2 separate regions of the Homo sapiens genome follow, and region 2 is linked to region 1. The links are contacts of gene promoters, found by promoter capture Hi-C in blood cells and fetal thymus (Javierre and others, 2016). All regions are on one chromosome and are shown on one strand. Each heading gives the region's core, a stretch centred on a gene start or on the middle of the fragment in contact. The rest is flanking DNA. Distances are from core to core; before and after follow the strand shown. Region 1 holds the start of RAD54B (RAD54 homolog B). Region 2 has its middle 5.0 kb from the start of C8orf88.

Region 1 (3,223 bases), core at 269-2,768:
AGAGTAATAGAAAAACAATTAACAAATAAGTATATGTTAGGGAATGGAAAGTGTGATGAACTCTATAAAGCAGGGTAAGGGAGATACAAGATGAGACAAGAGAGCAATGCACTGTCAGATAAAGCCCTTTGACAAGTTGATATGTGAGTAATGATCTGAAGTGAAGGATCAAACCAGATGCAAATCTGCAAGAGGAATGTCCCAGGTCACCTTTAGCCAATCTGTTTTAGATTTTCTGAACTCCCCAGATGATATTAAGGTAGGCTGCAGACACTATGAAGCTAGCTTGTTTTCTGGTTACCCTTACTCTTTATGTGTCCCAGTCCAAAGAAGAGGGGGGTGCGGTTTACTAAGGTGCCCAACCTTGGCAGGTCCCCATTTCAAATTCTTGTAACGCTGGCTCCAGGAGCTGCCAAAAGCACAACTCAACCTATGAGGTGCTCTTTATGACTGGAAAAAGTCCCCAGGATAAAAGCTCCTTAAGCACATTACTCTTTTTTTTTGAAACAGGGTCTCTCTGCTGCCCAGGCTGGAGTGCTGCGGCACCATCTCGGTTCATTGCAGCCTTCACCTCCCAGGTTCAAGCGATTCTCCCGCCTTAGTCTGCTGAGTAGCTGGGATTACAGGCGCGCTCCACCAAAACCAGCTAATTTTTGTATTTTTAGTACAGACCGGGTTTCACCATGTTGGCCAGGCTGGTCTCGAACTCCTGACCTCAAGTGATCCGCCCGCCTCGGCCTCCCAAAGTACTGGGATTACAGGCACAAGCCACCGCTCTCAGCCTCAAATTACTCTTTTAAATGGCTGTACCTATTTACACTCCTACCAGCAGCCCAAGAGTTCCCATTGTTTCACATCTTCATTTCACCCTTGATATTTTTTAGCTTTTACTTTTTGTCAAACTGCTGGATAAAACTCAATAAACAACCTTTAGCCATTCTCTCTCCTTTCAGATTAGCCTTTCTAATACCATTTTTCAGGGATAGTTGACTGTGTTACCGCCTAGCACTTAGAAGGTGCTCAGTAAATACTCATTGAATGATGTAACTTTCCTACTTAACATGCTTTAATGCTTTTCCAAGTCCGGAGGCGGCTCCCCTTTTCTGAGAGCCTAATAATCACGTATTCGTTTCTATATTCCCAGAACCTAACAAAGAGTTTGAAAATTATCCTGCAGGCACCGCTAAGTCAATGTTTTTTCGGATGAATGAATAACCAATAGGATATCGTATACTTCTGCGATGCACGCATTTCTATTATCGCACACACCGAATCATACCGTATTTATTACTTATCCACGCAGATGGTGAGGTCTGTAGCCTCGGCATCTACACTGTGTCTGAAAGTAGGCACTAAACCAGTATTTTTTTAATTGAACCGTAAACTTGAATCAAACTTGGAAGCATTTAAAGCCAAACGCAAAGATACATGCGCAGTGATGCAGTAGGGTCGTCCAATCAGAGTAGGGCAGGACAGGGCAGTGCAGCGGCTAGGTAGTGCGCACGCGCGGCGGGCTCGTCCGCGATTGGCTTCGCCGAGGCGGGATCCTTGAGCTTCTCCGGCGGCGAGGGGATAGCTGGTTACCAGAAGGACTTCTTTGCAGGGCCAGTGGTTTCTGTCAGATTTTCGCCGGTGCGTCCTGCAGGGGGAAGCTCGGGAGGCTGCGACAGCCTGTAGGCTCGTGCGGGACAAAGCAGGGAGTGGCGCCGGAGCAGGCCAACGAGGGAGGAGGGAGGGAAGGCGGCAGGAGCGACCGAAGTGGCCTTCTGCGGGCCTGCAGCTTTGGTCTGAAGTGCCAGGGACGCCCTGGTTGCTGGCCCCGGGGGCCTTGGAGCGAAGGGCGGGCGGTGGGGGTTTAGGGTTGTGCGTTTGTGTGGGAGGGATGGTTCTGGGCAGTGGCCCCTGGGGCCGCCACTGCGGTCGCTTTGCGCAGGCTCCTCTTGGCTTTTGGGTCTCTCCCTCACTCCTGCACTGGGAATTTCCTTCCCCAGGGCCAGGGGGTGAAGGCTCTGCGAGCGTCCTGGAGAGTGTCGGTACGCCTTCTTTAGGGGCTTTTACCTCTTCACTGGTCAGGTTTTTCTTGTATTTCCTTAAAACCTTTTAATCGATTACCTTATGGAAGATTTTCTAGGTAGGAACAGATGCTTCTCGACTTACTACGGGGTTGAAAATATCCCAAATGGAAAATGGATTTAAAACACAGCTAACCTACTGAGTATTAAAGCTTGGCCTAGCCTACTTTTGTTATCAAAAAAATTATTTTCAGCTGTTTATTTTAGATTTGGGGGTACATGTGCAGGTTTGTTGCATCGGTATATTACGTGGTGCTGAGGTTTGGATACGATTGATCCTGTCACCCAGGTAGTGAGCATGTTACCCAATAGTTTTTGAACCCTTGCTCCTCCTTTCCTCTCCCTTCTAGTTGTCTCCACTGTCTATTGTTGCCATCTTTATGTTCATGAATGCCCAATGTTTAGCTCCCATTTATAAGTGAGAACATGCAATATTTGATTTTCTGTTTCTGCTTTAATTCGCTTTGGATAATAGCCTCCAGCTGCACCCATGTTGCTGCAAAGGACATGATTTCATTCCTTTTTATGGCTGCGCTAGCCTACCTTAAACATGCTCAGAACACTTACCTTAATCTACAGTTGGGCAAAATCATGAACACAGACGGTTGTGTGGTTACTTGTACAGTTTCTACTGAATGCTCATGGCTTTCTTAAAAGTCGAAGAATTCTAAGTGACACCGTCCTAAATTAGGAACCATCTATATAGCCGGAGTCTCAAAGGAGCAATTTAAGGCATGAAGTGAAATAATTACTACCTAATGTAGTTGGAAGTCGACAAGCAGCAACAGCAGGGAGAGACCGTTGCTGGTTCTTGGTAGAGTTGGTGTACTTACATTCTTGCATCCTCGACGTTTGATGGTTGCACATACCTCTCTTTAAAGCCCAGACGAACCCAAAGATTCTGGTCATTGTCCTGTATGTTGAACTACCCCTTCTCTATCTCCTTCACAGGACCTTCATCATTTCTACTCTCCGATAATACTAATTATAACAGATAACATTGAGTGCTTACTATGTGTCAAGTTTTGTTCTAAGTGCTTTACATATTTCATTTAATCCTCCCAACAGTCCGGTGTGTAAGCATGATTATGGTACCCCCTCTTAAAGATGAGGAAACTGAGACACATGGAGCCAAAGTAAACTGTGCAAGA
Region 2 (3,223 bases), core at 410-2,909, 3.5 Mb after region 1:
TCCACTTTGGCATTCATATTTTCACATACAGAAAAATGCTGTGATTTATTTTATTTTATTTTTTTCCCATAAGTTATTGGGGTACAGGTGGTATTTGGTTACATGAGTAAGTTCTTTAGTGGTGATTTATGAGATATTGGTGCACCTTTTGTTTAGCTTTTGTTTAGTTTTGATATGGCTATACCTGCACTCATATGCTATGATAAACCTCTACAGCCATTTCCCTGTTTATGATCTGCATAAATTGCTATAAAATCTAAGTTTTCATTTATTCAATGTATGTTTCTGGTATGCTCATACATACATATGTAATAAGCAATGAAGACAAAAGCCCTAGTGTTTATGTAGCCACCTTACGTATGTTAACATTTAGTCTGTCACAGTTATTATTCTACCATTGAAGAGGCTAAGACAGATTCAATAATTAAAGGTCACTTAGCTTATATGTGAGGAAGCCAGATGGAATCAGTCTGTCTGCTTCTGAAATGTGTCTGCTTTCCACTACATAAGGTTTTATTATTTCACTTTGTAGTGAAAAACTTTTGATTTTTGTGCCCTCTGCTGTTCATTGTCTGTAGGTCATCTGTAGAAAGAGAATTATTAGAAAATATTTGCCCAAAATAGTCATTTCAAAAGCATAGAATAATTTAAAATTTTTAATGAATTTGATATTATATCCAACTACATTAATTTTAGAGCATTTTGATTTATGTAGCAAAATATTATTACATGTATTTTCTTTTTTATAATTAGCATAAAATTATAGGAAGGCTAAGTAAAAATATTTTTTTTTTCTTTTTTTTTTTTTGAAAAAAGGTCTCACTCTGTCAGCCAGGCTGGAGTGCAGAAGCAGAATCTCAGGGCTGACTGCAGACTCAACCTCTCGATCACTACAGTCTCGGTCTCTGGGACTCAAGAAGTCCTTCCACTTTGACCCCCTGAATAACCGGGACTACAGGTGCACCGCCATGCCCGGATAGTTTTTTTTTTTCTTTTCTGTATTTGTAGACAAGTGGCTTCGCCATGTTGCCCAGGCTGGAATGGAACTCCTGAGCTTAAGCGATCCGCCTGCCTCGGCCTCCCAAAGTGCTGCTGGGATTAAAGGCATATGCACCCAGTCAGAAGTATTTTCTATTAAATATGAGGAAATTGACATGCGATGAGTTTTAAATAACAATTGTATTTTCTTTTTCTTGTAATTGCAATATTTATGAAAATGATTTGTTAGCACAAAATGCTAATAAAAATTTGTACAGGCTTTTAATTTTAAAATTTGTTTTACATATGCAGTTACACATTTAAATAAATACTATGTTCTTTATATTTTGCTAAACATGCATATGTTTGACTTGAAGTGGAATATTAGATTAAAAACAGAGAAATAAAGAGCCTATTTGTTTTCTTTTGGGGACGGCCTCACAGAGTAAGGATCAGATCAGGCCAAAGATTTAAGAAGTAGGTCTAGTTTGTAATACAGTAAATGAGAGTCTTTGATCTAACAGTCTTTTCAATTTTGTAACTAAGAGTTATTTAAGGTAACTTATTAAATAGGAAGTGATCGCACACATTGCTCTTATGAAATTTTGAATGCCCTGGGTGGCCTGTTGATAGGTGTAGGTAATAATGGTAGGATATACAGAGTTATGGAAAAGTTCCCAGTGTTCCAATAAATTTTTCTGAAAAACCTTGCCTCAGTATCTCATATTTCCACATGAGATATACCTTTGGCTTAAGATAGTGGACATTTAAATAATCTTGAAAATGCATTACATTTTTTATTTTTTTAATTATTTTATTTTATTTATTTACATTTTTAAGAAGGAGTCTCACTCTGTTGCCCAGGCTGCAGTGCAGTGGCGCAATCTCGGCTCACTGCAAGCTCCGCCTCCCAGGTTCATGCCATTCTCCTGCCTCAGCCTCCTGAGTAGCTGGGACTACAGGCGCTCGCCACCATGGCCAGCTAATTTTTTTGTATTTTTAGTAGAGACGGGGTTTCACTGTGTTAGCCAGGATGGTCCTGCCCTCCTGACCACGTGATCCGTCCATCTCGGCCTCCCAAAGTGCTGGGATTACAGGCGTGAGCCACTGCACCTGGCCAAAATGCATTAAGTTTTTATTAGTTATTAAGCCTCAAGAAAGAGTTTAGGAAACGTGGAGAATTCCCTAGCTTATGTAAGGCCATGTGTTTTTTTTTTCTGGTTTCTTCCTATGTACCTGCCTAACTCCTTTATAAACTTTCCCTTCTACCTACCATCCGCCATCCACAGATCTCCTTTAACTCCCTCCTCACCAATGCAGACTTCAGTACCTGGTTTTTATTCTTATCACATGCCACTGATTTAAATGTCAATGTGAATGGCTTATCTAATACTGCAGTCTGGACTCACAGTTCTTCGTCAAGTCTAATGACCTTTATTTTCCTTTCACTTCTGGTATTCACCTCTACAGCGGCATGCTGGGTGGTTATACTCAGAACCACTCCATCTCAACTCTCACACTCAGTTATCCCACTGTCTGAAAATACACCTCTTTGAAAATATACCTCTTCTGTCCGGAAGTCTCACACTGTGAGGACTTCAGGTTTATTATTCTTTCAATTTATCATCCCTTCCTTTATTTGCCAATGAATCTCACAACCACGCAGGTAAATGCCTTTATAAATTTCTGATCTTCACCTTCAGCTGACTCCTCAACAGTGTTCACCTGTTTTCAGGTGAACATTCCCCAGAAATGCTATCTCAAAATTTGAAAGTCCTACTGCTTTCCACAGTAGACCCCTTCCACTTATACTGGATAATCTCTACTTCACCTATTCTTGCTTTTGTCCCTTCCCTTCACCTACAATCTAGATCCCATTCTCTTGTGCCTCCTCAGGCAAATCACAGTATCTTTTTATTTTTTTCCTGTATCGCTCTGGGTGCGCAAGTCAATAACTGGCATCACTATTTTCCACTTTCCACTCTCACACTCTACACTGTTAGCAGTTTTCCTTATTCTCTCAGCTATGTGTACTTTTCTTTCCTTATGGTCACTATCTACCTTTACTTATGGCTCTCAATAAACATTGCCTGGATTACTGTAAACCTCTGAACCGATTCCTCTGCCTCTCTTCTTGTCTTGCCTGATGCCTACTCTGCTTCCCAATCCATTTTTCATGTTGTCATTTAAGTAATTTTTTCCCAAATGGTCATAGAATACTATTAAACCCAAACTAAAATCCTTC

Evidence for each region. Contacts are between HindIII fragments. The CHiCAGO score rates a contact against its expected background, and 5 or more counts as called.
Region 2: a contact is called between a fragment that was not itself captured here and the fragment with the promoter of RAD54B in region 1, in 1 of 17 cell types (monocytes). The highest score is 5.1, in monocytes.

The regions. Positions count from the first base shown.
Region 1 is chr8:94,473,410-94,476,632 of GRCh38, reverse strand. It overlaps RAD54B (RAD54 homolog B), which reads left to right and starts at 1,518. Exons shown (of 15, transcript NM_012415.3): 1 at 1,518-1,632. RefSeq lists an enhancer at 1,556-1,785. The HindIII fragment of the contact is 4,488 bases long and covers 1-2,226 here.
Region 2 is chr8:90,988,645-90,991,867 of GRCh38, reverse strand. No RefSeq gene overlaps it. Among named protein-coding and RNA genes, the nearest start is that of C8orf88, 5.0 kb to the right of the region's middle. The HindIII fragment of the contact is 4,553 bases long and covers 1-3,223 here.